Regions from separate parts of the Homo sapiens genome. Here all the other regions are linked to region 1. Evidence: promoter capture Hi-C in 16 types of primary human blood cells and fetal thymus (Javierre and others, 2016). All regions are on one chromosome and are shown on one strand. Each heading gives the region's core, a stretch centred on a gene start or on the middle of the fragment in contact. The rest is flanking DNA. Distances are from core to core; before and after follow the strand shown.

Region 1 (4,779 bases), core at 748-3,247:
CGTGCACGTGTAATCCCAGCTACTCAGGAGGCTGAGGCAGAATTGCTTGAGCCTGGGAGGCAGAGGTTGCAGTGAGCTGAGATCGCACCACTGCACACCAGCCTCCAAGATACAACAGAGCAAGACTCTGTCTCAAAAAAAAAAAAAAAGTCATAGCATATTTGTACACATTGTAGTACTCATTTGTCATCTTTCTTGACCCCAATAATCCAGTGTCCCTATATATTTGCACTCGAGCCCTATTAAGTAAGCCGCTGTGCTTCTAGAAGACCTTTTTCTTTTCTTGGTGCTTTGTCAAAGACTCTTGGAGATAAAAATACACACGTGCAACTTGTTTGTCCTCTTGTCCTTTTTTGCTAGGGGCTATTCATGCTGATTAATTTAAAACTGTCTGCTTGCGCGTACACACGTCTGCGAGTGTGAATGTGTATGTGTGTATCTATGTACCTCATTTGAGAAAGTGCGGCCAACTAGGATTGGCTACGAGGCAAAGGTGGAGACCTTTAGGAGCCCACCCACCCCAGCGTTAGGACGGTGGGCCTGAAAGTTACTATATGGAAGTCCTCATCGTGTAGCACTAAACCAGTGTAAAAGGTGTTAGGGACAGAGGGAAAACATTGACTTAAACTGTCGTAAAGCCCTTGATAAACCCCTTCCCTGGAGCGCTGAGTTCTGCATGGCCTGGGCCACGGACTAGGTGTTCAGGTGGACACGGGCGGGGATGCGCGTGCGTGTGTAGTGCGCGGACACCTAGGAAGCTACTTGAAAGTAAACACCACGCTCGGGGCGTCCCTAGACATTGCTTAAAACGTGCAGAGTCACCTGTCTTCACAGCAGGGCAGCGCTGAGGTCCCACTGCTGGGGGCGGTGGGGGGCGGCATTGGCCTGGGTCTTCCCCCGGCGGCCGAGCGCCGGTAACACAACGTGTGTGTGTGTAGGCGCGTGTACACACTCTCATACACGGCTAGAAAGGGTCCAGGCGACACACACACTCCCACATACACGGCTAGAAAAGGTCCAGGCGAGACACACACACACACACACACACACACACACACTCCACACACACTCACACGGCCAGAAAGGGTCCAGGCGGTTCCCGGCGCTTTTCCAGCCCTTGTTTTCATGGCGCACCCTCCCGCCAGCCGCCCCCCTCCGCACTCCGTCGTCCGCCCGGCCCGGCCGCGTGCGGTTCCCCGGGAGCCCCCACCCCGTCGCGGACCCCAGCGACCACCAAGTCCGCACGCGGCCTGCCGCAGGCCTGAGCAGAAGGCCCCGCGCACACCCACCGCGCCGCGGCCGCGCGGGAGGCCTGTGCCGCCCGCGCCACCCACTGGCCGGGCCCCGCGGGCGCAGCGGAGCGGGCGGGTGGCCGGCCCGGACGCGCCCTCCCCGGCCGCGGCCCCGCGCGCCATGTGCCCCCGGCGGGACGCGCCACTCCCGGGCCTGCCGCGGCGCCTTTAACCCGGGCCAGGGAGCGGGGCGGAGGGGGCGGTCGGGTGGCTCAGAGGAGGGCTCTTTCTTTCTTCTTTTTTTGAATGAACCGTGTGACGTTACGCACAGGAAACCGGTCGGGCTGTGCAGAGAATGAAGTAAGAGGACAGGCACCACAGCCCCGCTCCCGCCCCCTTCCTCCCGCGCCCGCCCCTCCGCGCCGCCTGCCCGCCCGCCCGCCGCGCTCCCGCCCGCCGCTCTCCGTGGCCCCGCCGCGCTGCCGCCGCCGCCGCTGCCAGCGAAGGTGCCGGGGCTCCGGGCCCTCCCTGCCGGCGGCCGTCAGCGCTCGGAGCGGGCTGCGCGGCGGGAGCTCCGGGAGGCGGCCGTAGCCAGCGCCGCCGCGCAGGACCAGGAGGAGGAGAAAGGGTGCGCAGCCCGGAGGCGGGGTGCGCCGGTGGGGTGCAGCGGAAGAGGGGGTCCAGGGGGGAGAACTTCGTAGCAGTCATCCTTTTTAGGAAAAGAGGGAAAAAATAAAACCCTCCCCCACCACCTCCTTCTCCCCACCCCTCGCCGCACCACACACAGCGCGGGCTTCTAGCGCTCGGCACCGGCGGGCCAGGCGCGTCCTGCCTTCATTTATCCAGCAGCTTTTCGGAAAATGCATTTGCTGTTCGGAGTTTAATCAGAAGAGGATTCCTGCCTCCGTCCCCGGCTCCTTCATCGTCCCCTCTCCCCTGTCTCTCTCCTGGGGAGGCGTGAAGCGGTCCCGTGGATAGAGATTCATGCCTGTGCCCGCGCGTGTGTGCGCGCGTGTAAATTGCCGAGAAGGGGAAAACATCACAGGACTTCTGCGAATACCGGACTGAAAATTGTAATTCATCTGCCGCCGCCGCTGCCTTTTTTTTTTCTCGAGCTCTTGAGATCTCCGGTTGGGATTCCTGCGGATTGACATTTCTGTGAAGCAGAAGTCTGGGAATCGATCTGGAAATCCTCCTAATTTTTACTCCCTCTCCCCGCGACTCCTGATTCATTGGGAAGTTTCAAATCAGCTATAACTGGAGAGTGCTGAAGATTGATGGGATCGTTGCCTTATGCATTTGTTTTGGTTTTACAAAAAGGAAACTTGACAGAGGATCATGCTGTACTTAAAAAATACAAGTAAGTTCTCTGCACAGGAAATTGGTTTAATGTAACTTTCAATGGAAACCTTTGAGATTTTTTACTTAAAGTGCATTCGAGTAAATTTAATTTCCAGGCAGCTTAATACATTCTTTTTAGCCGTGTTACTTGTAGTGTGTATGCCCTGCTTTCACTCAGTGTGTACAGGGAAACGCACCTGATTTTTTACTTATTAGTTTGTTTTTTCTTTAACCTTTCAGCATCACAGAGGAAGTAGACTGATATTAACAATACTTACTAATAATAACGTGCCTCATGAAATAAAGATCCGAAAGGAATTGGAATAAAAATTTCCTGCATCTCATGCCAAGGGGGAAACACCAGAATCAAGTGTTCCGCGTGATTGAAGACACCCCCTCGTCCAAGAATGCAAAGCACATCCAATAAAATAGCTGGATTATAACTCCTCTTCTTTCTCTGGGGGCCGTGGGGTGGGAGCTGGGGCGAGAGGTGCCGTTGGCCCCCGTTGCTTTTCCTCTGGGAAGGATGGCGCACGCTGGGAGAACAGGGTACGATAACCGGGAGATAGTGATGAAGTACATCCATTATAAGCTGTCGCAGAGGGGCTACGAGTGGGATGCGGGAGATGTGGGCGCCGCGCCCCCGGGGGCCGCCCCCGCACCGGGCATCTTCTCCTCCCAGCCCGGGCACACGCCCCATCCAGCCGCATCCCGGGACCCGGTCGCCAGGACCTCGCCGCTGCAGACCCCGGCTGCCCCCGGCGCCGCCGCGGGGCCTGCGCTCAGCCCGGTGCCACCTGTGGTCCACCTGACCCTCCGCCAGGCCGGCGACGACTTCTCCCGCCGCTACCGCCGCGACTTCGCCGAGATGTCCAGCCAGCTGCACCTGACGCCCTTCACCGCGCGGGGACGCTTTGCCACGGTGGTGGAGGAGCTCTTCAGGGACGGGGTGAACTGGGGGAGGATTGTGGCCTTCTTTGAGTTCGGTGGGGTCATGTGTGTGGAGAGCGTCAACCGGGAGATGTCGCCCCTGGTGGACAACATCGCCCTGTGGATGACTGAGTACCTGAACCGGCACCTGCACACCTGGATCCAGGATAACGGAGGCTGGGTAGGTGCACTTGGTGATGTGAGTCTGGGCTGAGGCCACAGGTCCGAGATGCGGGGGTTGGAGTGCGGGTGGGCTCCTGGGGCAATGGGAGGCTGTGGAGCCGGCGAAATAAAATCAGAGTTGTTGCTTCCCGGCGTCCCTACCTCCTCCTCTGGACAAAGCGTTCACTCCCAACCTGACCGATAACGCCTGCCATCTAAAAGTCTTTAACTTGCTTGCTAGTCGTGGAGATCCAAAGATCTAGCGTTTGTAATCCAGTAGGATGTGGTGGTAAATGGTACCCCTTCAGTGTTTCTCAAGCTGAAGGTCCAGGAGTCCCCAGGACCACCGTTTCCTGGCTTGAGCAGCTTGTTGGAACCGGAGGGAGGTTTCAGGGACTGCTTATGAACCAGATACCAGGTTGGGTCTTGACAGTCTGCATCCCAAACAAGCTCCCCTGAAACAAGCCCGTTGTACACTAAAATTGGAGAACAACCCGATTAGAAGAATAGACTCCACAGAAGACCAAGGGCATCATCAATCGGTAAAATTTTCCAAAAGAGGAAAACCAATGTAAGTCTTTTTCCCTGAAAAACTTAGTTGTGTTTGTAAAGAGCTAAGTTGACATTCCAAAGTCCTTGGACTGGAATCTCCAGTGTGTGCCATGTTCCCAGTGGGCGTGATGAGGTGTCCTGAGGAGTATCAGGCTATGGCTTTGCTACCTTGTCAGTGACAGAATTTGCATCGGCTGCATTCTTTGTATTCTATAATTTGTGTATGGTTTACCAGTTTGCTAGAATGTTAGAATCTTTTGTTTTTCACCACTCAGAGTGGACCTAATTTTGTGGTCGGCTGAAAAAAATTTGCATCTAGGTATCTATGTAAAGTGTAGAAGAATTGATTCTTAGCTGTGGATTATCTTACCCTTACTTTAGTTGAAGTGATTGATACCTGTGGCTTTGAAGAACATTTGTGAGATGATCTTTTTCTCGTACTGTGCTAGATAGAGCTTTCATCATTATACCATACAATTGTACTTTTCTGAGATTCTTTGTTGGAGGGGGTTTAGTTCCTAAGAGTCAAGGATTGTAATGGAGATCTATATCTCATATCTAA
Region 2 (4,779 bases), core at 809-3,308, 810 kb after region 1:
AGCATATCATAATTGTTGAAAACTGAACATTTTAGATAATGTGCTATACCAAGTTTGAATTCTGGTCCCCCTCAACTGCAGGTTGTTCTGATTTCTGTTTTGCTTGTTTGTTTAGCGATTTGCATGAACTAATTCTGTGGAATCTGGCTCCCTCACAACATGCAGCAGCTAATGTTTCTGCTCAGTTAATATTATTATTGTCGTTATCATTGTTTTCACTTCATGCCTAATTTCCTAAGGGTTACCCTGGGCCATCATAGCTTACTGGTCAGCCAGTGAGTGGTCAGAAGTTGTGCTTAAAACATCTTGATCTAATAAAGCTTCTACTTTTTAACTGACAGATTTGTGTTTAGGTGAAGATCACATGCAGTGTACAGGCAGTTTACAAGTCTACCCTGCTTTTATTTTTTTTATTTTATTATTTTTTTGAGACGGAGTCTCACTCTGTCGCCCAGGCTGAAGTGCAGTGGCATGGTCTCGGCTCACTGCAACCTTCACTTCCCAGATTCAAGTGATCCTCCTGCCTCAGCCTCCTGAGTAGCTGGGATTACCGGTGCATGCCACCACGACTGAGCTATTTTTTTTGTATTTTTAGTAGAAACGGGGTGTCACCATGTTGGCCAGGCTGGTCTCAAGCTCCTGACCTCAAATGATCCTCCTGCCTTGGCCTCCCAAAATGCTAGAATTACAGGCATGAGCCACCATCCCGGGCCAAGTCTACGCTGATTTTAGTATCTGTATCATAAAGCCTCATATTCAGTCAGCTACATAGCTAGCTAAAGCCATCTCTGGCCTCTCCTGAGCATATGCACAATTATGCATATGCAGGCAGTCTTCCAGACCCCCAGGGATATGTGAGAGCTTATCAGTGCCTACTGTGGCTGTCTCAGTCCCCAGATCACACTGTTAAATTTCTGGTTGGTCTGCTGGTATGTTGTTTACCCTAAACAGTGTTGCAACCTCAGGCTAGCTGCAATACTGGACTTCCCTGATTGTTTACCACTGAGATCCCTATTGTTTTTGACAGTGCTCCTGGGCATAGGTTTTTTTCAAGCTCTGGTACAAATGAACGCAGCCCCTTCTGCCAGCTACCTCCCATGACCTGCTCTGTCCTGGTAGAACTACCACACGATGAAGCTATGGGAAAAGGGTAGATAGGAACAGCCCCGGGGTAAAACACCACAGACCTCCACTGAGCTTACTAAAGTTTAGTGATTTTTTTTCAAAATAATTTCCTTTCAAGTTGTTGTATGACTTTGGTCAATTTACAGTGTACTGACATGGTTGTTTTTGATAATTTTGTCAAATTTTATCATTGCTTTTTGGGGAAAGGATTTGCCATGCTTCTTCCTCAGGCATTCTGGCAATCCTTCCGTATTTTTTGTAAGTGGTTTCTATAGGGGTGCAATAGACATTCTTAACTTTTCACAGTAACTTTAATGTTGTTTCCACTTTATGCAAAATGTAGAAACCTTGTAATAGAATATATAGATTCATTTACCACAACTCATGGTAAACACTTCCCCTGTCTCCTGTTCTTTTTTTTTTCAACTCCCAGTCAGTGAATAGATCTGCTCTTCTTTATGCCTTAGTTACTGTATATCTACCTACAGGTTTCAGGATTTGGATTAAGTAATGATTGGGCCCTCTTTCATTCAAAAAATACAAATGCTTTGAAGAGAGAAAAAACTATAACAAAAACTCTACATGTGTTCTGCATCTTTACATGTGTTCTCATCTCTTTATGTGTTCAATATGTATAGTACATGTCTCATGGTTTAGAATTCTTGAAAGAGGAAAGAAAGCCTTTATGTTTTAGGGACTAGTTACTAAAAGAATGGCTGTAATTCTTTTACTGTATAAAAGGTGCAAATGGTTATTTGGGGCAAAGGTATTATGTGCAGAGTGAGTGATCTGTGAACGCTTGCAATACCTTTACCCTTGTGCAATCACTCAGAACTGAACTTACATATCTTTTACACAGGAGAGAATTGGCATCCACCAATGTTTTGCTACTATTGATCCCAATCACTAAAATCTCTTAGAAATTTCAGGAAATGGTATATTTTCCATCCCTTACTATTCTAGTTTAAAGCATTAAGATTGGGGAAAATCTTTTACACCTTTGTTTCTGGTTTTTTTTTCCTTTGGAATATAATTTATTTACTTTTCAATGCTATCTTTTAGGATATATTTTTTCTCTTGTCCTAAAATTATCTCTTGGTGGAGGGCACTGTTAACTTTTTGCTTTGTGTGTGTGTAGGCTCATGTTATGCTATGTGTATGCTATTTTATGCTATGTGCCTGGTTATAACACATTTATCTATTTTGGAAAGTTAATTTTTAGCAATCAGAGAACATGTTTATCTCACTTGCCAAGAATAGATACTTTACGTTTCTGTTGCATTTCTTGTCTGCAGTGTTTCTCATCTCTTCCCAATTCTTTTAAATCTTAACCACGCTTGAGAACCCAGCTTGAATCACGGCTGGTTCCAGGACTCTTCCCCGGCTCTTCCACCTGGAAATGGTCTTTTCCTCCTTCCTTCATTTATTTCGCAAATAAATATTGAGTGCCCACTCTTTGTAAGACACTGATTAGGTAATAGAAGCTATGTAAAAGTTGTGACAAATAATTTTGCACTGGTAGATATGTGTTTCTATGCAGTCATGCACTGTATAACAATGTTTCAGTTAACCTAGGTTTGTATAAGTATACTCTATGATGTTTGCACAACAGTGAAGTCACGTAATGATGCACTTCTCAGAACATATTCCCATCGTGCAGAGATGCACAAGTATATCATATTTTCTCGGTTAAATTGTGATTTACTTGGGGGTACATCCTTCTCCTTATTGTTTCTTGTATTCCTTATAAAATTTAGCAGGGTGACTTCTACATAGTAAGGGTTCAAGAAAAAGCTGAATTTATATGATTATATTTGTAAATTTTCTTTAAATATACTTAGGTATGCAAGACACAAATAGTTCTTTTCTTTTTTTCTTTTGAGACAGAGTCTTGCTCTGTTGCCCAGGCTGGAGTGCAGTGGTGCGATCTTGGCTCACTGGTTAAAGCAATTCTCCTGCCTCAGCCTCCCAAGTAGCTGGGATTACAGGCACGCGCCACCATGCCCAACTAATGTTTGTATTCTTAGTAGATACGGGGTTTCACCATGTTGGCCGGGCTGGTCTCAAACTCATGGCCACCTTGGCCTCCCAAAGTGCTGGGCTTACAGGTATGAGCCATCACTCCTGGCCTAGGACTGAGTTATTTGAATGCAAATCAGGAAATGGCACATCGGAATTTATTATTTATTTTATTTTATTTTATTATTTTCTAGAGATGGGGGTCTCTCTATGTTGCCCAGGCTGGCCTCAACTCCTAGCCTCAAGTGATACTCATCACATCAGAATTTAGGGTACAAATATAGTCCATAACAATTGGAAATTTTAGTCCAGTCACCTCATTTTCCAACGCTATGATAAACATCCTTGTGAATGCTGTTCTCCTGGTCTAGAAGGCTCTTCTCAGCCTTCTGTGTGTCTAAGGCCCACCATTCTTCATTGTCAGGTTCCACCACTTCCAGAAGACAATAACCTGTCTTCCCCAACCATTTCAGTCCATACGGGTGCCATCTCCCTCTGAACTACTGTAGCACTTACCACCTAGTTCAGCAACCAGATTTCCCCAGCAACTCTTTCTATGTGGAATTCTTGTCTATTCTACGGGATATGGACCACATTATATATATACTTCTCTTTATGCCTGTGTGTCAAATACATTACTGATTAAAGCTTGGTTTTAAAGTCCAAATGTGGTCATATTGGTGAACTGCTATAAACCTTGCAGAGGCATTAGTAAAATAAAGGACTTCTTTTGGTACAAATTAGATGTGTGACAGGCTGCTTTTAACAGAGTATTGGCTTCACACAACTTTAAGTAGTGATTTTACCAGAAATGTTTACATTAAACAGCCTTTTTAGAAAGTAAACTGTTACAACTATCTTGTAAAGTAACCTAACAATATGTATCAAGAATCTTAAAACTTTTCATACCTTTTAGTGCACCTATTTTGGGGAGTTTAACTTAAGGAAACAATCCTAAAGCAGAAAAATAAAAAGCTTTGTATGTAAACATGTTTATAATAGGATATCAGTAATATTGTTGTTCCCAAAAAAGTGAATGAGCAAATACATTATATATACGTATACATACACACACAATATTTTATATGCTGATTGTTTCCACTTGTATTTCCCTGTGTTGATACAAATTTTACTAACTACATTTTTACTAGATATGTAATATTCTCTCATGTATATATAAAATTATATGTTTTATATAACATGTATAATTTAAATTTAAATATATAATATAAATTTATAATTTATATATAGTTATATAATATATATTTTTATATATGTATGAGAGAATATGTATCTAGTAAAAATATAGTTGGTAAAATTTGTATCAACACAGGGAAATACAATAAGTGGAAACAATCAGCATATAAAATTGTATATATGACATAGTCAAAATGATACACAAAAATATGAGTAGAAAGAAGAAATGAGAGGGAATATACCAAAATGCTAAGATGAGTTTTAGTGCCTGGATTGCCATTTAGATTTTTGTCTTTTTCTTTCTACTTTTTTTCTGTTTTCCAAATCATCAAAATTGGGCATAATTTCTGAATAAAAAAGAATATAATTTCAAATATGGAGGAGGCATCAAGGATTTAAATTTCAAGTAGACAGTTTTTAGAGTTTAAACATTTTAGT
Region 3 (4,779 bases), core at 742-3,241, 730 kb after region 1:
TAGGTGACTGTTGCAAGGAGAACCACGGTCTTCCAGATGCCCTCAGGTACCACTAATGCAGCCCGTGTACAGGAAGATTTTCCTCTGGGACCCACTTCTCCTGGCTCCCTCCCGCGGTGAAGCAGGTGCCTGCAGCCCCTGCCTGCCCCTGCCTGTCTCTGGACCACCCCGCCTCCCAGCTCCTGCAGCAGGACCTGGAGTCTTTCATTCCCCCACCCAGCGCACTCTCCATTAGCTACTCTTCCCAGAAGCACCTTGGGCGATGCTGTTTCCTTTGCCATCTCTCACCTCTTCACTAAGGAAAAGCTCACTTCTTCCTTCTTGGCTCAACTAAAACACGCCCTTTGAAAGTCCTTCCCTCATTCCCCTCCCCATTCTTTCTGATCTTTGGTGCTAGGATGCCCCTCGCTAGGCTGAGCTCCCAGCCAAGGTTTGCTGAATGACTGTGCATAAGAACCAGCAACTTCCTAACCGCTCAGTGCCGCGCACTGCCTGGGCTCACTGCACCCACTTAGCGTCTGTGCCTTCTTAAGCGCCAGAAACTACTGACTGTGCCAAGAAAGCAGAGCCCGAAAAGGAGGGCACGAGTCCCTCCTCCCAGAAAATCAGGACCTTCAAGATAATGCGAAGTGCATCTTTCTTCAGATGAGGCTGATTATGGCAAGCTTTTCCTGTAAGGGACAGACGGTAAATATTTTAGGCTTCGAGGGCCATAGCGTCTCCATCCCAGTTATTCCACTTTGCTGGGATAAGACAAAGCACCCACAGACAACACATAGAGAAGCAAGACGACCGTGTGCTAATGCACTTTATTTGTAGACACTGAAGTTTGAATTTCATGTATTTTTCACGTGTCACTAAACATTCTTTTTCCTTTTTCAACCATTTAAAGATGTAAAAACCATTCTTAGCTTGTCGGTGGTGGGTTGATGCCCCTTGGTTTATGCTGCCAACCCAAGAGCTACGCCTAATTCATATCCTTCAGCACTAAGTCATACAGCTTTATTTTTTTTGACTAAAAGGCCCCTGAAAATGAAAACTTTACACATGCAAGCAGAGAGGAGTCCGAGACTTTCTGACGGGGCAGGAGGGGCAGAAACTGCTCCCTAAGGCCAGGGACAGCCAGACCCGTGCTGATGCTGCCCCCTAGTGACTGGCCAGCCTAACGTCCATCTCCCACCCACGGCCACGCTGTGACGGGTTGGGGGTGTGTTCCCCAACACACGAAATAAGAACTTCAAATCAGTTCAATCAGAAAGCGTAAAGAACTGTAAACCCAATAAATCATTTAAAGTGAAAAAGTAGGCTTCAATTCACAGAATTTTAGAACTGAAAGGAACTTTTGAGATGACTCAGTTCCATTTTTACACCAATTTACCAACGATTCACGTAGCTTTCAGGTAAAAAAAAAAAAAAAAGGCAAGTTCCAGAAAGGGCTGGTGGCCCATGAGTGTTCGCAGAAGAGCCTGCCCGGGAGTCCCGCCTGCTGAATGCCAGTGCAGGGCTGCCTACACCTCACACCGACATACCCACGAAAGACAGAGGTGGCGTGGGGCAGCAACCTTGTTGTCACACTGCCTGGGCTCACCGTCACCCAATCATTCTGTGCCCTTGGATATCGACTTCTTAGCCTTTGTGCCTCAATTTCCCTAACTGTAAAACAGGGCAGAGTTCCTCCCTCACAGGGCTGTGGGACTGAAATGAGCTGATGCTGTCTGGCCCATACTGGGCATTCAAGTGTCCCCTGCATGACAAACTTCTTGAGAGTCCACTATGTGTCAGACATTGAGTGCTTTATGTCTGTGTGCCAGGTTTAATCGTGCAACTACTCTACAACGCGAGTGTCATCATCCCCACTATGTAAATCAGACCGAGAAAGGTCACATGGACTGTGGTGGGTGCCTTCTCTTGTACAACTGATTTTGTGAAGGCGTGGAAGGCACAATTAAGTTACCATGTAACAAATATGACGTGACTCCAATAGGCTAGCAGGAATAAGCACTCAGTAACTGCCAGGCAGCCTGGTGGCATTCTTCACCTTCAGCAGGGCTTGTTGTTGGGGGTGACTGTTCTTGTTTCTGCATGAAGGTTACTTTGTCACCATCCATCTTTGCCTTTGGAGTGTCTTGGGGGCAGCAGGGGTACCTGGGACAATCTATATGTGACTGTCAGAGCTTTAAAAACATCAGCAGTCACCTCTCCTTTCTCCTTGCCCCACTGCTTCAGTAGATTTAATGGAATACTCCGTGCGCAAAACTTGTGTGAAGCACAACTCAGCGTGCGAGTGGAGATATCTGTACACATTTAAAATCTGCATTGATGCCACTTGAATTTATCTGACAGGTAAATGCTTTTGAAAGCCTAGTTCTAAAAGTCCTGGATATTTCTCTGGAAACATTTCACCCTCCCGCGTCCTCAAATCCTTCGAGAGCCACAAGGAAGAGGCCTCGCTATGGGATAGGATGTGGCGTGTGTTCCAGGCGTGCCCACAACCTGGTCCAGCCCTCCTCAGTCCAGAGGCCACACGGCCATTCCACCTGTGGGTTCCTATCACCTTACACAGTTCCATAAAGCCACTGCCCTGGGCTCTGCCAGAAGCACTGGTGGGGGCAGGAAGTGGTGCCAGGAAGTGAGCACCAACTTCAAGCAGAGGCCTGAGCATCACCATGGGCCTGTCTGCAGCACTTCGTCTCACTGAACCCAAAATTTCTCTCCTAGAAAACGAGGGGAAACATTCCCACCCCACTTCACAGCTGTGATGACCAAATGCACGCAGGAAAAGCACAGAGGAAACCTTTAAAGTGTTCACACACACATTTCAACGGCTGAATGAGGGGTTTGCTCAAGCTGCTTTTATGGCCAGCTGCCTGCACTCTTTAAGGTTTTGGGCACAGGCTTCCAACCCCAAATGTTCCCTCTCTTACGTTTAATGTTCTCTAAATTAGGTCAGTAGGAAATAACATCTGCTTGCTCGCACTGTCCTCGTCCCCCACCAGGTGGCATTGCGTTCCAATGAGCAATCTCTTCTGGTGAGAGGCTGGTGGAGGCCTTTTTCACAGCGGCTCAAATTGGAACTGCAAGAGGAAAAAGAAAAACAATGAAGAACCACCCAACCCCCCACCTCACCACAACTCCCACCGCCAAATTTCAGAGAGCAAAACCGGATCATGGGATTGAGAGCTTCTGGTGACCAAGGCCCGCATTCTCTGCAGGCGGAGGTGACTGCGTGAAGGGTCTCCGGTCCCCACACGTGTGATGTGCCCCCATTACAGAACAGACAAGAGGAAGCCCCAAACCACCCCCAATTCCAAAGCTTCCACAATTGATAAACATTTGCATACACACACAGAACTCAGGTGATGTGTACCCATGTTCCAATTCAGGGGGCTTACATTTTTCAACAGAGGACAGCGTTTAGGAATTAGGGAAATTTTGCATGGACAAGCACAACAGCTGTATCTGTAAGCAGCGGTAACATCAAATATGATGTTATTCTGACCCTAGGAATCCAACCTGAGCAAGCCAATACGTTAATGAGCATCCAGGGAAAGACAAGGTTGTCCGCCCTGGCCTGTCCTCTCTCTGCACAGGGTCATCTGAAGGGGCGAGGGCACTCCAGTTAAAACATTCCCTCCACCCCGAGCTGACACCTGCCTCTCAGCCCTGGGACCCCAGAGCCCCTCATCCTTTAACAGCTGGTCTCCTCCCCTAAAGAGAAGAAGATGTAGAGATGTCGTGACTACGTTTCCAGGCAGGGACCCCATTTCTTCATATCTCACACCTCGAAACTCACTGCTCTGGAAATCAATGAGCCCTCCCTCTTGGTGGGGTGGGGTTGGGTGGAGGGGGGGGTCAGTATTTTTTTATTCTTTTAAGATTATGGGAGTGTCATGGGGTGGAACTATTGTCACAGCTTGCCTCCATATGGTTTCACTGCCTTAACCTTAGAATGCTTTTGCAATCAGTATGGAGAAGTGAAAAAGATGTCTTCCAAGCTCAAATGGATGGTGCTGTTAAGTACTAGGTGCTGTTAAGAAAACAGGTATTTTACACCGTGCTTTCTCATCTCTTTGGAACCTTTTCAGAAAAATTTGATTCTTAGTGCTTACATAAAAAATTAAATGTAGATTTGCCTTGCCATAAACTTTTACTTTGGTACTGAATAATCATGACCGTTATGACTCGGCATGTCTGTACAGTCCATACATACCATTAACTGGCAAGCTTTCCAACTAGGTTTAATCTGCGAGGGTAAGGAATAGCTTCTATATCGTTCATCAGTGCATAGAGCAAAATTAACTAATCTTAGTCTAATGAAGAGCTATGTTTGCTAGGTTCCTCACCATCCAAAGAATCACTGCCATCACTCCTACCCAAACCTGTTCTCGTCCACATCTTCCCTTTTATTAAAAAAAAAAGACACGGTCTCACTCTGTCACCTAGGCTGGAGTGCAGTGGCATGATCTGGGCTCACTGAAGCCTCTGCCTGCTGGGCTCAAGCGATCTTCCTGCCTCAGCCTCCTGAGTAGCTGGGACTACAGGCATAGACCACCAGGACCAGCTAATTTTTGTATTTTTTGTAGAGATGGGGTTTCGTCATGTTGCCCAGGCTGGTCTTGAATTCTTGGGCTCAAGTGATCTGCCCAAGGCCTTGGCCTCCCAAAGTGTTGGGATTACAGGTGTGAGCCACTGTGCCTGGCCCTGTCTCTTAAAATAGTATTACAATCTCCCTGTTCATCAAAATTGAATTCAACTAGAATTTGAGTGGCTTCTCAGTGC
Region 4 (4,779 bases), core at 753-3,252, 710 kb after region 1:
GGCATGGTGGCTCACACCTGTAATCCCAGCACTTTGGGAGGCTGAGGCGGGCGGATCATGAGGTCAAGAGATCGAGACCATCCTGGCTAACACGGTGAAACCCCGTCTCTACTAAAAATACAAAAAATTAGCTGGGCGTGGTGGCGGGCACCTGTAGTGCCAGCTACTCGGGAGGCTGAGGCAGGAGAATGGTGTGAACCCGGGAGGTGCAGCTTGCAGTGAGCTGAGATTGCGCCACTGCACTCCAGCCTGTGCGACAGAGCGAGACTCCGTCTCAAAAAAAAAAAAAAGCGTGTTTAGTATTTTCATCTTTATAATATTTATTGAGAGCTACGCATTTATAGCACTGTGCTGAAACTCTTTATATAACTGACGCCTCTGGCTAATATCTTTCATTGGCCACGTGAGCTTCAATTTGTATACTGTGTGAAAGCAGTGAAATTTTTGACTTTCAAATACCGTTCTTCAGTTGTCAGCAGGATAATAAAGTATTCAGAATTAGTTTGGTAGGCAATGCTTACTGGGCATATTATTGCCTTTTGCTTCTCTATTGCTACTTATAACACATTAAAGAAAATTATATTTTTGGAACCCATTTTCACACACACACACAGTTTGGAAGAGAGAAAAGAGATGGAGCTATTTTAGGATCTGTATTTTCAAAGAATAGCAACTCTCTAAGTGACAAGAGAGCAAGTAGAACCAACTTTATAATTAAAGGATGGTGTAGGTTGTAGAAAAGGGATGATACAGGTTTGGAATGATGAATAAGACAGTCCTTACTCTTAATAAGCTTGCGTTCTAGTGGAGTGTGGGAGACCAATACATCAAAATAGTAGTGACCACATGTCCCCAGTCCAAATTTGGGACATGTGGTCTCAAAAGAATGAGTGCACTTTCTGGGGACAACTGGACCACCTGTTTGAAATGTTAGCAGATTTAGGACATGTAGTTGCCATACTTAGAACAGAAGATGGGGTAAGAAAAGCTGTTCAGGAGGCATGTGTAGTTGCTATGCAGCTTCGGGGAGGAAGCGCTCACAGCATCACACTCTCCTTCAGGCTCCACGAAGCAGCTAGCTCAGCGCCTACTTCTGGATCGTCTACCCTTTGCCAGGTACTAAACTAATGGTTGCCGTGCCATGCTCCAGAGCAGCTATGCACTTCCCTTTAAACCAGTCACATGCGTGTGTGAGCTGGCTGTCTGGGCCTGGGTCTTGAAGAAACTTCCCTCTTTCGGTTCATACACATGTGTGTGCAAGGAGACTGTCGGGGTGAAGAGGCTCTGACACTTTAGGGTGGCATCAGGGGCACAGGCTCTCCCCTAAATTCAACTTCAGAAATACAGATTTAAAACAATTCTTTTGAGAAATATTGCATATCTATGAAACCAAAAAAAAAAAAGGAGAAGAAAAACAAAAGAAAGAAAAAAATCCGGCGGGTGGATCACGAGGTCAGGAGATTGAGACCATCCTGGCTAACATGGTGAAACCCCATCTCTATTAAAAATACAAAAAATTAGCCGGGCGTGGTGGTGGACACCTGTAGTCCCAGCTACTTGGGAGGCTGAGGCAGGAGAATGGCGTGAACCCGGGAGGCAGAGCTTGCAGTGAGCCGAGATTGCACCACTGCACTCCAGCCTGGGTGACAGAGCAAGACTCCATCTCAAAAAAAAAAAAAAAGAAAAAAAAGAAAAAAAAATCCATTTGACATGAAGGGGACTGGATATTCATATATTGCTAGTGGTACTAACAATAGATGTATTCTTTATTTATTTTTTTTTTTTTTGAGACAGAGTCTCACTCTGTCACCCAGGCTGGAGTGCAGTGGTGCGCTCTTGGTTCACTGAAACTTCCAACCCTTGGGTTCAAGCAATTCTCATGCCTCAGCCTCCTGCGTAGCTGGGATTACAGGCATGTGCCACCACGCCTGGCTAATTTTGTATTTTTAGTACAGACAGAGTTTCATCATGTTGGCCAGGCTGGTCTTGAACTCCTGATCTTAGGTGATCCACCTGTCTCGGCCTCCCAAAGTGCTGGGATTATAGGCATGAGCCACCATGCCCGGCTTGCGTATTCTTATAGAAAAGGAATCTGACACTATGTGAGAGGGCATCAAACACTTTAGACCCTTTGATCCAATAGTTTCACTTGGGAAAACGTACCTCAAAATGAAAACACAAAACATTGATTTTCTTTTCTATAAAAAAATCAATTGCAGCACTGTAAAATGAACAATGGGAAACAACCAATACTCCACAATGGGAAAACATTAATTAATAAAATCTTTTTAGCCCCTAGACATCGTGAGAGTACACCAGTAAATGAGAATGTGTAGATGAAATATTTAGTGAAGAAAAGTAGAACATGAAATTATATGTACATACTGATTACAACCTTGTAAGCTGATGGAGATACCAATTTATATCCAAAGAGACTTTTTAGGAAAGGAACAGCTGTTTAGTATTGATGAGATTTTTCTGTAAGTTGTTGGCATTGATATTTTTTTAAGAAGGAAGAGTGAGTATGGCAGGGGTGTTAGTTGAACTATGAGTCTTGAATCTCACTGAGTTTTTTGTTGGTTTATGTTATTGAGAGGCATGGTGCAAGTACTTTGTGACTAAGAGTGAAAGGACCATTCTTTGGTTTATTATAATATATTAATAAACTAGAGGTGATTCAAGTGTCTCTACAATGAAGTCACTACCACACGCTTGCATTTTGAGATGCTTTCTTTAGTGGCGGCAGAAGGGACAGAGCCACTTGCCACTTTGTAGTTATTATTGGCTCCTGGTCCTGCAAGTGTGAATGTCAGCTGTCATTCACATGAGGGAAGTTGGAACTGACGAACTGTCGTGATGTGTATGACAGTCTTGTTCCCTAATCATTAATACCATGCCACCTGATCTCTTCAGTCTCAGAAATAATTACATTTCCTCTTTCCTTCTCATGTGAAAGCCTGCCCACTGGAGTAGGCAGGAGAGTAGGTCCTTCCTACCCCCTCTCTTGCCAACAGGAAGGCCTCTCAGCTAAGATCCCCAAAGGAGCAGTGCCCAGGTGTTCTCTGCAGCTTCCCCGTCTTGACGACCTCCTAGTTATGACATCCACTAAATGCTTTCCTTGAGCTCTCTGCAGCATTGCATGCTGGAACCACTCGTCTCCTTGAAACTTTCCTTGGGGTTATGCCTGACTCTAGCACTTAGGAGAAGCTTATGTAGAAGATCAGGCAAAAAAGGGCTTCCCCTCCGCGGAAGGCTGGCACTTCTGCACTCCCTCGGGGCCACCCTGATACCATGCAGAGAACAGAGTAGAGAGGCAGGGTTCAACCCCCCATGGGGCTGCTTCCCTGCCAGTCTGTCTGGCATCCTAACTCCATAAGGTGGCAGCAGGGCAGGAGATTTCTGACACCAGAGAGACCTGACAGCAAGAAGCCTGCAGAAGCAGCCAGACCCAGCCAGACCCAGACCCAGGATTGAGAGTGGGTCTAGGAACCACTCCTCTGTGCACTTAAGCTGCAGCCAGGCCATTCGGAAGGAAGTAAGGACATTTCCCCCTGGAATCGCCTAGCTTCTGTCAGCTCTGTGTGACATGGATGGAAATACATCCCACTTGCCTTGCTAGCAAAACTCCCCACCCCTGCAGAGTCAGCTGCAGGAACGGAGGCAGCCAGGATGGTGACGCAGGAGGGAGGGCGGCCTCCCCCACTCCACGGAGGGCCGCAGGAGCCAGCGGGCAGCAGATCTTTAGCCTGTAAAGGAGAAAGCAGCCAACCCGAGCCAGGTCGGGCCTCCCCAGCAACACCCTGTGTTGTGGTTCTGTCCCGCAGTCAGAGGCTGGTCCCTGACTTCCCTGGTTTCACGTGATAACCTGGGTATGAACAGGCAGGCCCTGACTGCTGCGGACAGGGGAACAGGGAGGCCCCAGCTGTCCTCCCCAAGTCGTGTGGCTGGTGGTGGCAGAGAGGCCGCTGACCCACAGATTCCCCTGTCACAGCCCCTGGAGGGGTGGCCACTCGCACTCCTGTGTGCAACTCTCCCCGAAGGCTTATCTCTGTTTGCAATGAGGAGAGACTCCTTTCTGGGTTTCCCGTCTTAATCCTGCGCCTGCAGGAATGCGCTGGTCAGCTTTTCCCAGGAAGCCCGGGTCTCTGTGGCTTTAGAGTTGGACGTCCTGGTGGTGGTCTCAAGGAGCGCCCAGGGCAGGAGACTGAGAAGGGGAGGTGGAGAGGGGCGCGTGTGTGCAGGCGCCGGTGGGGCGTGGGGTTCAGGACACAGCCTGACCCGATCCTGTCGCCGGGGCAGGAATGTGAGCCCTGGCAGCGGCAGGCCCAGTGGGTCTTGAGGGGAACAATACCTGAGCCCGTCACAGGCCACTAATGGGCTCCTTGGAACTGAAGAAAGAGAAAGAAAGTCGCTTCTCCCACGTGTGAACGTGCAAGGACAGCAGCCTCAGAGCAGGCGCTGGCGAGTGGCTTTCCCGCTCCCCTTCACCTGCTGATGGGAGCCTTTCCCAGCTGCTGGAGCCGGGGAGTAGGCGGCAGGTGGGCCCTGTCTGCAGGCTGCAGGGACGGCGGTGGAGGGACTGGGCTCCCTGCACTAAGGCAGCGGCGGCCCCTGTGACACTGACCGGTGAAAAAGGCTAGATAATCCCCAGGTCTCAGGGCAGAGCCTTACTTGGGCAATTAGCCCATCCCCCAAACAGCCGGTTTCCACCTCCTCATTTTCTGTCTTTCTCTGCCTGTGACTTCTCTCCCCCGCATTCACGGCCTTATTCCACCTTTC
Region 5 (4,779 bases), core at 1,029-3,528, 610 kb after region 1:
GCCCCGGCTGGTCTCAAACTTCTGACCTGAAGTGATCCACCTGCCTCGGCCTCCCAAAGGGCTGGGATTACAGGCGTGAGCCACCACACCTAACCCAGAATGTTTCTTCTAATCATAAATTCTATCGCCATTGCTCCTTCTCTAAGAAATTACAATACCGCATTGAATCCACCCATGGTTCCTATTATTTAACATTACACAATCACCGCAACTCTGCCTTTTTTATTCTCTAGCAATTTTGTTTACTCTTTGAAGGTATTTATAACTAAAACACCTTTTTCAAGGGGAAAAAAATTTGTACCAAAAACATTGCTCAGGTTGGGCGCAGTGGCTTACGCCTGTAATCCCAGCATTTTGGGAGGCCAAGGCGGGCGGATCACCTCAGGCCAGGAGTTGGAGACCAGCCTGGCCAACATGGCGAAACCCCGCCTCCACTGAAAATACAAAAAATTAGCCGGGCGTGGTGGCGGGTGCCTGTAATTTCAGCCACTCAGGAGGCGGAGGACTCAGTGAGCCGCGATTGCGCCATTGCACTCCTCCAGCCTGAGCAACAAGAGAGAAATTCTGTCTCAAAAAAAAAATAAAGACATTGCTCAGAGGATTTAGTATCCAAATAATGGGGAAATGGGGACTGGAGAGCCATCATACACTCCTGGCAGATAGGGGCTTGGTACTGGGATACCTAATACTAAGTGGTGTCGGGAGGAGGCAGGAAATGAACAGGATGAATATTGTTACAGTACCTCAGCATAACGAAGAAGGAAATACATTCCTACCTCATAAAAACAGTGTTTGGAGGGGTGGGGACCTAAAATACAATTTTCCTGGATTTCATGCATAGAGTCCATCATCTGAAGATGACATATTCCATTGTATGCAGAATAATGTAAATCAGAGCTAAGGGGAGAGCAAAAGGGCCGGGGTCCACTGTGTAATCCTTCCCTTGTTCTGACCCAAGCCCCCAGTGATGTTACTAAGCTTGGGGTAAGAGAAGAAACAGAAAGAAAATGAGAGCTCCTGAAGAATAAACAATCCCTTACCGCCAGATCAACTGGATCCTTGTAGTTGAAAGAACAAATTGATAAAGGGCAATGAAACTTGTACTTAGAGCTTGCTAGTATCGGGAAACATCACCCAGACCATCTGTGCCAATGCACTCTATACAATTTCTCCAAATAAGAAAAAGATTTCAATAAAAGACAAATGTGTTCCAGACACCCATGAAATGGCAGCTTCTCCTACTTGAAAGTGGAGTGGGGAATACACCAGTATCCTAAAACCACATACATCATGAATGCCCCCCTTTAAAGTGTTCCAAATGTACGTTCTAATACCACATTTCTGACTAACCACACTTTCCAAAGAATCCCATTTTGAAATGCTAAAAGATAATCCTGAAAAGAAACATCAGATGCAAAAGTTGTGAATCCTGATGCCAACTTGTTAAAATATTTTCACATCTAAGTTTAGAAAAGGAGAACACAATTTTCAATTTATTGCCACAGTTTACTTTATGCTGTGTGATTTATAACTGACTTGCTATGATCTGCATCTAGGTTAATTCTGTTTGAATCCTTAGAACTAAGATAAAAGAAGTCATCTTTGGAGGTTTATTTTCTAATATAAGCAGTTGGAATTTTAATAGAGGCATAAATTGATAGCTGGGATGATTTCAGTCTGAGTTGTTAAGGGCTCAGCTGTGTCCAGAAATAAACTCAGAAAGATGCAATATACAATGTAATACATTTAGTTCCTACATTATGAACAAGGGATCTAATTATAGTTTCACATTTTTATATCCCTTGAGCTACTAGTGGTTTACCATGCCTAAATTGTTCACTGTTTACTCATTCTTTTTTACTATGAGGGACCCATTTAGCAAATTACTGCTCTAGTGCACTAAATGGGCCCCAGGTGGCCAAACTGAATTAATATGTTCCCTGTTCACTGGCAGGATGAGACCTTATGGTCTCTCTGAAGTCTTACCCCTCCCTCATAAAATTTACAATCTGAATTCAATCAAGAGCTTGGATTGCTACTATCATTTTAGGTAATCTGTTTTATAGATACGGCTTGATAGCTTTTCAGATTTTAGTGCACCCTTTTTAATCCCATAATTCTTTGTCTTGTTCTTATTTCTCACATCCTGCCTCACCAAAGTAAACAGATGTTCCATACGTGGCAACAATTAAGTTTTAGAACAGAAATACAGGCGGCGTAAACCCACCCCAATACCCTAATAATGTAAATTACCTGGGACATTCATTCAACAAGTACTTATTGAACTTTTTTTTTTTTTGAGATGGAATCTCGCTCTTGTCACCCAGGCTGGAGTACAGTGGCGCAATCTCCGCTCACTGCAAGCTCCGCCTCCGGCGCTCAAGTGATTCTCCTGCCTCAGCCTCCTGAGCAGCTGGGATTACTGGCGCCTGCCACCACACCCAGCTAATTTTTGTATTTTTTTTTTTAGTAGAGATGGGGTTTCACCATGTTGGCCAGGCTGGTCTCAAACTCCTGACCTCAGGTGATCCACCCATCTCGGTCTCCCAAAGTGCTGGGATTACAGGCGTAAGCCACTGCACCCGACTACTTATTGAACGTTTAAGTGTAGGTATCATTCATCCTAAGTAAACAGTATAGACAAAAATACCTGATCTAATGAAGCCTATTTATAGGCATTGGCATTTAATAAAAAATCTTCAATTAAAATCAACCTATTCTCTTCCGTTGTACAGATAATTTTTGTTTGGGGCAAACAGGAAACATGAAAATCTATATATACAAATTACATATTAGAGTATAAATATTTCTTCTCAAAGTCTCATTTATTCTTTCCCTTATGAATGAAATCATCATACAATTGTTTTAAGTACTCTTATAATATGAATACATTTAAAATATATTAATTTTAAAAATTAATTTATACCTAGCTTTTTAGAAACATATTTTGGATTCTAACCTCACACAAGCACCTAATACCTGTTTGCATCAAGATTCTTATCTAGGACAGGCACAGTGGCTCATGCCTGTAATAAGAGCACTTTGGGAGGCCAAGGCGGGTGGATCACCTGAGGTCAGGAGTTCCAGACCAGCCTGGCCAACATGGCGAAACCCTGTCTCTACAAAAATACAAAAATTAGCCAGGCGTGATGGCTCGTGCCTGTAATCCCAGTTACTCGGGAGGCTGAGGCGGGAGAATCGCATGAACCTGGGAGGCAGAGGTTGCAGTGAGCTGAGATTGGGCCATGGCACTCCAGCCTGGGCTACTGAGCAAGACTCCATCTCAAAAAAAACAAAAGATAAAAAAGATTCCTATCTAACAAAAATCTATTTTCCTACGCCATCCCAAAACATTTATTCTGATTCTTCCGTGACTAAAAAGAGAAAAGTATTCTCCAGATAATGATTCCTCCATACTTACATTCATTAATTATACCGTGAAGAAGCAGCATGGATATTCTTTTCTTTTTTCCGCCCCATTGTAGAGAGGTTTTAGGAGACTCCATCAGTCCCTAGAAATCTTGCCCTTTTTCCCTCTACTCCCTGCCACATCTAGTGGTCTAGACTCCTAAGCTTATTAGTTTCCTGGGGCTGCTGTAATAAACCACCATGAAGTGGGTGGCTCAAAACAACAAAAATTTATCCTTTTGTTACCGGTAAACTTGAGGGCCCCAAAAGATGGGGTCTTTCCTCCTTCATTGCTGCAGAGCCAATACACAACTGAAAGTGAGCATCACCCACAGCAAGGTTTAGTCTGTGGCCAGGGAATGAAGAAGTGGGAGCATGGCTGGCAAATCACCTTCTCAACTAGTGCAGGATGAGGGGGCTAAAATGTAAGGCTTCTTAATGAAGGAGTTGGACACTAAAAGTGAGGGGAGAGTCCAGGCATGGTGGCTCACACCTGTACTCCCAGCACTTTGAGAGGTCAAGGCAGGTGGATCGCTTGAGGCCAGGAGCTCGAGACCAGCCTGGACAACATGATGAAACCCCGTCTCTACTAAAAATACAAAAATTAACTAAGCATGGTGGCCTGTGCCAGTAATCCCAGCTACTTGGTAGGCTGAGGCAGGAGAATTGCTTGAACCTGGGAGGTGGAGGTTGCAGTGAGCTGAGATTGCGCCACTGCACTCCAGCCTGGGCGACAGAGCGAGACTCTGTCTCAAAAAAATACTATTTTGGCCAAGCGTGGTGGCTCACGCCTGAAATCCTAGCACTTTGGGAGGCCAAGGTGGGTGGATCACCTGAAATCAGGAGTTCGAGACCAGCCTGACCAACATGGTGAAACCCCGTCTCTACTGAAAATACAAAAATTAGCCTGCATGGTAGTGGGCGCCTGTAATCCCAGCTACTTGGGAGGCTGAGACAGGAGAATCACTTGGACCGAGGAGGCGGAAGTTGTAGTAAGCCACGACTGCGCCACTGCACTCCAGCCTGGGCAAAAGAGGGAAGCTCCATGTCAAATATATATATATATACTATTTTTAAAAGGATATTTTAATACATACAAAAAGTAGGAAGGACAGATCTCAGCATAGAAAAAGTGGTCCTTCAAATTGAACAAAGTTAACTTTATGAAAAACTTCTTAATATGTCCTTTTTTTCTCTTCTATTACCAAGATCAAGAAAAATGCCATCCCAGGTCAGTTTCAGATCTCAAGCTGGCATTTGAGAATCAGAGCCAGAGCTTCACAGAAGTCCCTGTCCCCAGCACCTTACTACTATTCCATAGTCAGCACTAGATGGTCACGGTAACTTTCAAGCTGTGACTTTCAAGAATTT

The links. The method cuts DNA at HindIII sites, captures the fragments that hold promoters and counts their contacts. A CHiCAGO score of 5 or more calls a contact.
Region 2: a fragment that was not itself captured here is called in contact with the fragment with the promoter of BCL2 in region 1 in 1 of 17 cell types (non-activated CD4 T cells); the score reaches 5.5 in non-activated CD4 T cells.
Region 3: a contact is called between a fragment that was not itself captured here and the fragment with the promoter of BCL2 in region 1, in 1 of 17 cell types (fetal thymus). The highest score is 5.7, in fetal thymus.
Region 4: a fragment that was not itself captured here is called in contact with the fragment with the promoter of BCL2 in region 1 in 2 of 17 cell types (M2 macrophages and M1 macrophages); the score reaches 7.6 in M2 macrophages.
Region 5: a contact is called between a fragment that was not itself captured here and the fragment with the promoter of BCL2 in region 1, in 3 of 17 cell types (non-activated CD4 T cells, fetal thymus and total B cells). The highest score is 8.0, in non-activated CD4 T cells.

The regions. Positions count from the first base shown.
Region 1 is chr18:63,316,987-63,321,765 of GRCh38, reverse strand. BCL2 (BCL2 apoptosis regulator) reads left to right here and starts at 1,997. Exons shown (of 3, transcript NM_000633.3): 1 at 1,997-2,592; 2 at 2,814-3,684. The coding sequence starts at 3,100. RefSeq lists enhancers at 140-229, 4,666-4,715 and silencers at 1,121-1,190, 1,221-1,430, 1,591-1,780, 3,136-3,375. The HindIII fragment of the contact is 7,545 bases long and covers 1-4,779 here.
Region 2 is chr18:62,507,129-62,511,907 of GRCh38, reverse strand. No RefSeq gene overlaps it. Among named protein-coding and RNA genes, the nearest start is that of ZCCHC2, 14 kb to the left of the region's middle. The HindIII fragment of the contact is 3,472 bases long and covers 323-3,794 here.
Region 3 is chr18:62,582,741-62,587,519 of GRCh38, reverse strand. It overlaps a transcript of ZCCHC2 not described here. Among named protein-coding and RNA genes, the nearest start is that of ZCCHC2, 62 kb to the right of the region's middle. RefSeq lists enhancers at 1,050-1,344, 1,216-1,395, 3,261-3,320. The HindIII fragment of the contact is 2,648 bases long and covers 668-3,315 here.
Region 4 is chr18:62,611,043-62,615,821 of GRCh38, reverse strand. No RefSeq gene overlaps it. Among named protein-coding and RNA genes, the nearest start is that of ZCCHC2, 90 kb to the right of the region's middle. RefSeq lists an enhancer at 3,536-4,210. The HindIII fragment of the contact is 2,414 bases long and covers 796-3,209 here.
Region 5 is chr18:62,707,695-62,712,473 of GRCh38, reverse strand. No RefSeq gene overlaps it. Among named protein-coding and RNA genes, the nearest start is that of PHLPP1, 5.5 kb to the left of the region's middle. The HindIII fragment of the contact is 2,595 bases long and covers 981-3,575 here.